3 separate regions of the Homo sapiens genome follow, and all the other regions are linked to region 3. The links are contacts of gene promoters, found by promoter capture Hi-C in blood cells and fetal thymus (Javierre and others, 2016). All regions are on one chromosome and are shown on one strand. Each heading gives the region's core, a stretch centred on a gene start or on the middle of the fragment in contact. The rest is flanking DNA. Distances are from core to core; before and after follow the strand shown.

Region 1 (3,455 bases), core at 395-2,894, 260 kb after region 3:
AAGTCAGGTTAATTATTTTTTCTTATCAGGAGATGAGAGTTTTTTTTTCTTTTTAACTCTCCAGAGTTCATTTTAGTGCCTTCTACCATATAAAGAATTCTTAAGAGCTATTATGAGATTTTTATTATTCACTTGTGGCTTTTTCCATTGGAGCCACTTGAAAGAAATCAAGGGGCCATGATAATAGCTGCTATCCTAACCTGGTAATAGGTAGATTCATCTTTGTTGCCAAGTAGTGGTTTGGGAGTAGATTGTATAATAGTTTGATTTAGAGCAGCTCTTTGGGCTGATAATAACTTAAAAGTCAAAGTAGCATTTTTTATAAATCACAGGTTTTATGACATTCACTAAAATGTTCTTTTGGAAGGTCTTTATTAATATGGTAAAGGCAGGGAGAGAAAGATTTTTCTTGGGTCATAGAAAAATATTCAGAAGTATTTTGCTAGATTTTATAATTTTTTTCTCATTTAAGCTTCAAAAATTTAATATTTTCAACTTAAATTTTTAAATACAAATTTAAATATAGTTTTAGATAATCTATGATGTATTTATTTAGCAAAAACTATTATTCAATATTTTATGAATTTTCTTCCTCACAAATTTGATTAATTGATAAATAAAACCATATTTTTAATGTTTTCTTCTCCTATAGTAGAAATAAAAACCTTAATCTGTATTTTAGCATTTAAAGTAGAAGGAGTTTCAGGATTTCTGTAGGATATCTGTTTAACATTTAACAGTGAGAAAGGTATTTTCAGTGAGATTAAATGACCACTTCAAGGCCAAACAGCTAGTTAGAGACAGATAATGTGAAATTGAGTCTTTTGATTCTAATTTTTGGGTTATTTCCATTACTCTACAATTGAAAAAAATACATACAATTGTACATATAATTTGTATGAATTTATAATTCACGAAAATCTCAAAAATACGATTTTGAGATTTTGAATTGTAATTTGATATGCTCACTCCTAAAAGTTGAAAATGCACTTTACATATTGAAAAATATATGCATTTAAAAGAGTAAGGGTGGATAAATGATGCAGTAATATCAGAGAATAAGTGCTAGTCAATGACACAAGTAATTTTTTTCTTACACATCTTAGAGATGTCAAGAAATTCAGTTTGACTCATTTGATATTTTAATTTGCCTATCTGCTATTTTTTAACTTACTATTGAAGTGAAACATTCTTCTTCTTTCTCCCCAGCTCCTCCTCCTCATTTTTTAAACATGATTTTTTTTTAAGATTAAAAAGGATATTTTTAAATGGATATTGTCCTCAAAATTAAAAAGATTGTATAATAGGCTTTGGAACTAAATTTTATCAGGATTAATTCATGTAACAAATGTTTATTAGGCACATACTATGTGCCAGGCACTTTCTAGACATTAACCATATTCGACTGGCATGAAACAGTTTGTAAACAAGTGAGCAAACAAATAGCAATTATTTATTAGCTAGGGTTACATAATGGATAAAGTGAGTGGGTTTACAGGGTAGACAGTGATGGACAGGTTTCCATTTTATGTAAGGAAGGCCTCTCCAATGAGGTAGTATTTTGTTTGTTTGTTTTTTTGAGACAGGGTCTTGCTATGTTGCCCAGGCTGGTCTCAAACTCCTGGGCTCAATGGATCCTCCTGCCTTGGGTTTCCAAGTAGCTGGGACTATAGGCACACGCCGCTGTGCCCAACTCAGTGAGGTAGTATTTGAGCAGAGATCCAAAGAAAGTGAGGGAATAAGCTATGTGAGTGAAGCATAAGCTACTGTATTTGTGTATTAGAAATAAATCTGAGTATATGTTTTTGAAAAATATTGGTGTTTTATTTAATTTATATCCACCTCTTAATGACCAAGTAATCTGTTTGACTCAGTTTCTTTAAGTGTAGAGTAGGAGCAATAGTAGCCTTAATCTCATAGGGTTGATGTAAAGATTAAGGAAATACATATATATAAAGTGCTTAGAATGATATCTGCATAGAATATATGTTTAGTAATTATGAGCTATAATTTTATAATAGTTTATATTTAATTTTTTTTTTTTTTTGAGACAGAGTCTCACTTTGTTGCCCAGGCTAGAGTGCAGTGGTACAATCTTGGCTCACTCTAACCTCTGCCTTCCAGGTTCAAGATATTCTCCTACCTCAGCCTCCCAAGTAGCTAGGAGTACAGGCGCCTGCCACCACAACCAGCTAATTTTTGTATTTTTAGTAGAGACGGGGTTTCACTATGTTGGTCAGGCTGGTCTCGAACTCCTAACCTCAAGCAATCCACCCGTCTTGTCCTCCCAAAGTGCTGGGATTACAGGCGTGAGCCACCGCACCCGGCCTCTACATTTAATTTTATAATAGTCTACATCTGCAGTTAGAGTAAAAATTAACATTACTATCTTTTAACTTAGTATTTGGCTTTAAAAACAAATTGTTATCATAAAGGCTTAGTATTTTGGGGGAGTTGTTTTCTATGTTTGATGTCAATTTATTATCAACTGTTTATGACAATTCATGAAAACTTGATGGTGATGTCACCTCTAAGTTACCAGCTCTGTTTTGGTTCACTCTCTGGGACCGTTGGGCTGATAAAAGAAACATAATTCAAGTTCTCTTTCATGATCTTAGTCTTCTTTTATGGAGGAAGCTGCTTTACTTGAATCTGTCTTGAATAATTCTTTTATATATACAGTATATAAAATATATCTGCTATAAATTCCATGCATAGTGGCATTTAAGGTCAAGGACTCATTTCTTAACATAAATTAAAAGTAATTTATGTAAATTAAAAGTAAAATCAATGAATTTACTTGTTTTTAAGCTTTTTATACTCATATTTTTATATATCACGGAGACTATAATGTGTTTAATGTTCGAAATTAACGTTTTATCCATTTTTAATTTTTTAAGTATACAGCCCAACTCTTAATTTTTAGAGGAATATATGTAAAGGTGGCCTAACATTCATAATTCTATTGTAGTTTTAGAAATTTTGTCTCAGTTATTTACTTTTTGACAATCATGATTTTTCATAGTTATAAGAGAATGATAATTATAAACCTTACAGCTTGCTGTAGGTTTTAGTGGTGACACTCTCATTAGAGAATCAGCTAGCTTGAGGTTCCTTTTCTTTAGGTGCTGTTTGTGGTTAAAAATGATAATTTCTTGCCGGATGCAGTGGCTCACGCCTGTAATCCCAGCACTTTGGGAGGCCGAGGTGAGCAGATCACCTGAGGTCAGGAGTTCGAGACCAGCCTGGCCAACATAGCGAAACCCCATCTCTACTAAAAATACAAAAATTAGCCAGGCATGGTACCACGCACCTGTAGTCCCAGCTACTCGGGAGGCTGAGGCAAGAGAATCACTTGAACCCGGGAGACGGAGGTTGCAGTGAACCGAGATCACGCCATTGCACTCCAGCCTGGGTGACAGAGTGAGACTATGTCAAAAAAAAAAAAAATTAAC
Region 2 (3,742 bases), core at 266-2,765, 280 kb after region 3:
AAGATAAGAAATTTTTTTCCATAAACCTTTATTTGGTAAATTCATTTTTATCTGAAAATTATAACAGTGTATTATTCAGTTTCAGGGTATAATGCCAGAGATATGTTTGAACTGAAACATGGAAATTCTTCCCTTTACCCTTTTCTCTGCTTTCGTGAGGAACAATTGTGGTATTAAAGAAGCAACTGACGATATTAGAAAAGCAATGTGGAGTCTTGGCCCTGTCACTAATCAGACATATGATACTTGGGTAATTCTAGCCCAAAGAAAGACTATATGATATTTCATTTTTCTTTAAGCTTAAAGATTCAATATATCATAAATAATGTTAAATTAATAAGATTCTTCTTACTTGGCTTATTAAATTGTTCTCATTTCTTTGTAGTACTTTATATTGCAAACCAAACTTCTAAAATATGTAGTTTATTTTCCTTTAATTTGTGTATTCTCAAAATGTTCCAGGTAAATAGTTTATTATGATAGCACTCTCTTCAGAGGTATGTAAAAATGTCATCCAGAATAATATTTAGAGTCTTTGCCATGTCCTAGAAGGCTCTATTTTCCTTTAATTTGTATATTTTTCTTTAATTTGTATATTCTCAAATGTTCCAGGTAAATAGTTTATTATGATAGCACTCTCTTCAGAGGTATGTAAAAATGTCATCGAGAATAATATTTAGAGTCTTTGCCGTGTCCTAGAAGGCTCTCCATCATTGATTCTGCTTCTCTATCTGACCTCATCTCCTGCCATTCTCCCACTTCCTCCAGTCTGATCTCACTGACTTCCCCATTGCTCTGTGAAGATGCCAAGCATGTTCTCACCTGGGACTTCTGAATGCCTCGTTTAATTTACCTGGAATGCTCTTCTTCCCAAATCCACGAGTTTACTCTCTCCCTTCAGTTAGGTTTCAGTTCATATGTCACCACGTTAGAGTTCTTCTGTAATCCTCCTATCTAAAATAGCTCCCCACCCCCATCACTCCCTACTTTAGGTTTCTTTATAGATCTAATCTCTGACAATATTTATTTTACTTGTTTATTGTTTGCTTTCTCCACTAACACATAAGCTCCATAGAAACGGGGACTTTGTTCTGTTTAGTACTGTGTCCCTGTTGCCTCATAGGGATTTCGATTGCATATAGCAGGCACTCAAAATTTTTGTTGAATTAAGCAAAAAAATTATTATAATATTTTCAGTTGCATAATTACCTTATGGACTTTAGAGCACCTACTTTATTAAAGCACTTTAAAGCACTTAAACTTTTAGATATATTTTGAAAGTGGATCTGAATTATAGTCCAGTCATAGTATTCCGTTAGCCACCAGGGTAGAAGAAATCTCAATACATAAGAATATAAAAAAGATAGAATTCATCTGATCTAAAAATAAAGAATGTTTGATCTATGAGAGAAAATACTTACAGATCATCTAGCATAGAGTTCTTATTTTAAAGATCAGAAAACTGAGACATGGTTATATTTGTAGATGTGCCAGAGATCACATGGCTTGTTGGTGGCAGAGCCCTAATTTTGTGTCTGTAATATACATGTTATGATTTTATGCAATTTACATATGAATGTGTTACATTTTCTAGTAAATTTGTTTTATTTTATTTACTTGCAACTTTGCTATCATCTGTAAAAGAATATGCCATAATAGTATTTTCTCATTTTTTTTTAAGTTTCACAGCTCTTGCATGCTACTAGGTGAATATGGAGGATTATCTTTGGGATGCTTCCGTCTTCTTTGGAAATCTCCATTTAGGTGTCTCATGGTTAACAGAATAAATATTTGCCAAAGCAGATTCCTTATAATTCTACTTAAACCTGACACTTTTGCTATATTACCTTTAATAATTCATTCTGGTTGCTTAGTTCCAGAACTGTGGTTGGGAAGGAGTTGTCATATATTTTTTCCTCTCCTTGTCACCTATACCCCACATCCAGAAAGTTGCCAAGTCCTGTAGACTCGGTTCTCTTCTGGTAGATCTTGATTAGCAGGCATAACCCTCTACCAGATGCTGGCCATTGCAGAAATTTTGTGACTCTGCATATAATTACAGAAACCATCCTCTAAGAAATCAGTCAAATTCATCAGATAATGTTGAATTTTGTTAGCGAATAACTAATAAAACTTCATTTAAGGATGACCAGTAAGGAGGCAGGGAAAGTATTTACATGGCATTTAGTAGAGTGCTTTGGACTCTGGGTATGCCCAGTGAAATAAATTGCCCAGTGAAATAAAGTGAGGTATTAAATATAATACCTCACATTAAGAACGTGTTTTTCCTCTTGCTACAGTTTTTATTTGCTCAGTAACAAAAAAAGAACACTCTCTCTTTTTTGTTGTTTTTAAGGCTTTAAATGAGCTGTTTAAAAAGTCATCTGTGTGCAGATTGAGAAATTGAATAATTAGCTGCCTTTCAACGCTTCATAAGCTCTTTTAGCCCATCAGGTTAAAAAGGGGGTGGAAAGAGTTAATACAGTCTTAAAGAGGCCTAATTTACAACTAAGGAGTACCTGAGAGCTCTTGGAGAATTTGACACAATGAGTTAGATCAACCCCATTTTCATTTCCCTCTAGCTGCAGTTTGTAACATAAATAAATCCATGGTCTATAATTGTTAAATGGAAGTATTTGAATGCCTCCTAGTGGCATATTGTAGGCTCTAATTAAGGAATTTAAAAAGTAATACTTATTGAAGGAATACTATCATAACCTATTAAAGCTTGTAAGTACAAGGTAGTAAAATCCTTTAATGATAACATCCTAAGTGAAATCAAAATACATTATTTGCCATACAAAACTGATTAAAAACATGACTGGAAAAAATATAATACATATGGCAAAGATGCATATACTTTGAATAAAAATTTTTGGTTTTGGTTCAAATCGAGTTATTTTAATTTACTTTATGTAATGGATCTATTTTGCACTTAAACATAGACAAATGTGGCTAATAATAGGATTTGGATAGCTTTGTGTACATTCATTTTTTTAAATTAATTGTGCTTATCACTTAGTTTCTTTAAATATCTTTGTATAATAATAGAGAAAACGGTTTATAGAAAGTCTGGTTCATTTTCAGATTTTTTTTTAATTCTGATCTTCAAGTTGAATAAAATAATTTAATCGGTAACCTTGAAATACAGACTATAGCAAAACTTTAAAATGATTAAGAATGCTGATTTAATTATTGCTTTATGCATAAAAATGACTTTACATCTACAGAAATATAATTTAAAATGGAAAGAAAGTCACATTAAAAGAATTCTGATGAGGGTCAGAAGATGGGAGAAAAAAGTGATATCCTTTTGTTAAGTACTAAAAAATGTTTAATTAACTGCTTACCAAAACAAAACAATTAAAATGGCAATTACCTTTAAAATAGCAACAGTGTAATTACAGCTGTTGTGATATAAAGCTAGGAAACAAAATGTTAATCTGGAATGAACAGTTTAAATATGAAATTATGATATACTTGGCTTCCTGTAGTACAGCTGTCAAGCTTGGGCAGTTTGCTGGTCAATAGTGACATTCTATGTGTCAGTGAACAGAGTCTCTTGATACCGTAACCCGCAGTTCACACATTACTGAAGCTCCAACTGTCGAACATTCAAGTCCCCTGATATTATTGCAGCTTCCAGACTCTCCTAACTGGCTCATGTTTCATTCTTTGGCAATTTGCCCTAATGATATCCCTCAGGAGCTTTCAGCCTCTCTTCCTTTCCATATTTAATCAT
Region 3 (3,310 bases), core at 331-2,830:
AAGGTAAGAGAGCTATCTGCTTTGAGGCTGGAAGAAGGACCATAGTGAGGGGGCTCAGATTTGTCGAAAAAGAAAAACAAGCAGCTTGTTATTTACTGGGCTTACTTATGGTCACCTGGATAGTCATTTAACCTGTGATACTGACACTGATGAAACAAATGTGAATTTCCCGAGTGAGAAAAAGTTCCTTTCCTTCCCTAGACTGATTGAAAATTTCTTCACATGATACTGGTGTTTGCTCTAAGGAGAATGACACTTTTCTTTAATATCCACCATATCTATATTGCGAAGTATGAGAACAAATTATATACATTATTTTTAAAAGGAGAGCATAAACAAGAACAATCAAAAGCTGCCAGTCACTTCCTAATGAGTCTTTATTCAGTTTCAGCACTTGAATGGGTCAGACCGACAGTGGATTCTCAGGGCCTACTAACTGTCATTATTTAAATAAGTCAATTTTAGGCAACCTCCGGGATTTTCTTCTCTACCCCTTTGGCTCAAGTCATACCATATAATATTAGTCCCATCAAGTACTGGAGGCACACACACATAGCTTATTAAATGGGTTCATTTCATACTGCTTTTCTATCTTTATTATAGTCAGTTTCTCTTTTTTTCTCACTGTTTCTTTTGTAAAGGTAACCATGCTGCCTTTAAACTCACGCAGACTGTGTTAGAAGGCGTAAAGGGAGAGAAGTTTAGATACTGGTACTAACAGACAATTGTCAAATCCGCAAAACAGGAGAAAACAGCTGAGTGTCTACAAATGCCAGATTGTAGTTCCCTCTGCTCCGTTAAGAGTTAAGAGAAAGGACAAGAAGGCAATGGAAAAATTAAAATAAATGTGTCAATGTCTTTTTTTCTCACTCTAAGAATCACTGGATTGCTAAGTGTTCAACTGACAATGCAGAAAAACACACAACACATTTTTGTTGTGACTTCTCAGTCCCTCCACCTTCTCCATCAATTCCTTAACACCCCCTTCCGCAACACACACACACATACACCACAAAAGAGTGGTAGTGGGTCCCACACTGCGACCGGAGTTTAGCTCGGACGCTGATCGGAAAACAAATCACACTCATACTCAAGACAGACACAGGTTTCCCGCGAAAATGTCGGGGCTGGAAGTTCGTGTGCGTGCGCGAATGTCGCCCGAGGCAGGACCGCACCGGTATCCAGCAACCTTTGCCTCTGCCGGGCGGCCTCCGGGTCCGGAGAGGCCCGGGATGCGCAGGCGCGCCGAGCCCGGGGCGGCCGCGGCGGGGCGGGGCGGGCAGGAGGGAGTCTCACCGCGCAGGCGGCAGCGTGCAGCTCCGCGATCTGTCGCTCCGCCGCGGTTAACTCTTCGCTCACCGAAGGCCTCGCCGCTCTCTCCGGCCTACCGGGCGTGCTGGGCGCGGAGCCGCCGCAGTTTCCCTCGTTAGCAGGGCAGAGGGTTAAGCTGAGCTGCTGTCGGAACCCAGCTCTTACCCAGAGAGGTGCTGGCGGCGGGGCGGCGGAAGGTTGCCTGCAGAGCGCGGCACCCGTCCGTGCCCAGATCTGCCTGGCCGCCATGCCGCCGCCGGCCTTGGGAGGCGGAGCACCCGGCGCTGGGGCCCGGAGGGGCGACCAACGCGGGCCTGGGCGCGGCGAGCCGGTCTTGGGCAGCTCGTGGCCATCGCTGCGTGGGGTCGGTTCGCGCTGCCGTGGCAGCAGGTGGAGGCGGACGGACTGAGCCTTCTGCCTTCACCAGCGGGCCCGCTGCGGAAATAAAATGGGCTTTTAAGGCAGCTAACGAGGCTCTGATGAGCTGCCTGGACGGGGAAGAGCCTGGTGTTTCCACATCTTTGGACTTAAATTCTAAGCTCTTCCTTCTTCCCCCGCGCCCACCCAGCTGAAAGGTGGACATTTTTTGTTATGTCAGACTGGACTTGGGATCATTCAGTATAATCTCCACAACTGTTAAGATCCCAGAAAGTGATCAAAAGACCCGAGGTTTGTGAATAACCACCTTGGGCCTATCCAGAAAAGGCTGAGTGTTTCCAGGTAGTATGTGATAGGAATAAAGGTGGAAGCGGAGCCTTCTTTGCTTGGTTCTTTGGCCCACCCTAGAATAAGGGCCAAAAGTAAAATCGCACACTGAATAAGAAAAGGTGTTGTGTTCATGTTGCTGAATATTTACAAAATCCAACCTAAAACTATTATCTCCTTTCTGATGGATGAAAGTGATCTTGATACCGTCACATAATTGTATTTGAGAAAATTACGGCAAGCCCGGGAAGTAATTTCAGGTGTTAGGATTAAATTAACACCACCCCATCTTCCTACCCCCCGTCTGGGTTTCAAGAAAAGGAGGGCTGAAGAGTACCAATTTTGTTAGTGCTCTTCAATACTGGGAGGGCAGGAATTGATCTTTGAGGACAAAAGTAGATTATTCAGTTGTACAGGAGAAAGGCGACTAAGCCACTATAGACCATCACTACGTGTTTTTTGGTTTCTGTGTTTACCATGCAACCCTGTAGTCATATTTTCATTTTCTTAAATCTTAGTAGGAGGTGATTGAAACAACCCTATTGGTTCATTAAAAATCTCAGTGAATTAATAAATTGGTATTATATTTTGCAAATTGATTTTCTTTTTGTTGGAATAAAAAATTAGGATCTGGAGACTGTTAAGTAATCTGAGGAGAGTTTAAAATCTGGAAAGCGAAGGAGGGACCCTAGAGAAAGCTGTGGAAGAGTGGGACCAAACATGAGATCACCAAAAATGAACAACTGTGATGTTATTCACATTCACCATAAGTCAGGTCCCCGCACCAACAAAAACCTGAGATTGATTTACTGCATTGTCTTTAAAATTAAGGATCAGGATCCACTAATAGGCCATGACATCGATTCAAAGGGTAGAGACAGCATTTTACAGGAATGAAATAGACTAGACCAGATTTAAATAGAAAATAAATGGAACTATCTTATATAGATACATATCTTATATAGATACATATGTACAAGAGTACATATTGTTACATGAAACTTCTTTTGGTGAAGATGAGAGGGTGGAAGTGGACTGTACAGGGCTTGAACAACAGAGATCTTGTAGGTAACAGAATAATTCTGTATCTTGACTATGATGATTACAAAAATTTACATGTGATAAGATGCCATGGAGCTATACATACATTGTTTTAATGTCAAATCCCTGGTTTTCATATTGTAAGCATGTAAGGTGTAAGCATTGGGGGAACCTGGGTGAAGTAAACACAGTACCATATCTGCAACTGCATGTGAACCTGTAATTATTTCAAAATTTAAAAACAGTATTTTTT

What was found. The method cuts DNA at HindIII sites, captures the fragments that hold promoters and counts their contacts. A CHiCAGO score of 5 or more calls a contact.
Region 1: a contact is called between a fragment that was not itself captured here and the fragment with the promoter of C1orf53 in region 3, in 2 of 17 cell types (M1 macrophages and M2 macrophages). The highest score is 6.7, in M1 macrophages.
Region 2: a contact is called between a fragment that was not itself captured here and the fragment with the promoter of C1orf53 in region 3, in 16 of 17 cell types (megakaryocytes, M1 macrophages, M2 macrophages and 13 more). The highest score is 19.3, in megakaryocytes.

What each region holds. Positions count from the first base shown.
Region 1 is chr1:197,639,065-197,642,519 of GRCh38, reverse strand. All of the region lies in intron 10 of DENND1B (DENN domain containing 1B), which reads left to right. Among named protein-coding and RNA genes, the nearest start is that of DENND1B, 130 kb to the left of the region's middle. The HindIII fragment of the contact is 2,339 bases long and covers 475-2,813 here.
Region 2 is chr1:197,618,132-197,621,873 of GRCh38, reverse strand. All of the region lies in intron 10 of DENND1B (DENN domain containing 1B), which reads left to right. Among named protein-coding and RNA genes, the nearest start is that of DENND1B, 160 kb to the left of the region's middle. The HindIII fragment of the contact is 2,428 bases long and covers 302-2,729 here.
Region 3 is chr1:197,900,900-197,904,209 of GRCh38, reverse strand. C1orf53 (chromosome 1 open reading frame 53) reads right to left here and starts at 1,580. Exons shown (of 3, transcript NM_001024594.3): 1 at 1,297-1,580. The coding sequence starts at 1,560. RefSeq lists silencers at 1,126-1,375, 1,546-1,695. The HindIII fragment of the contact is 7,446 bases long and covers 1-3,310 here.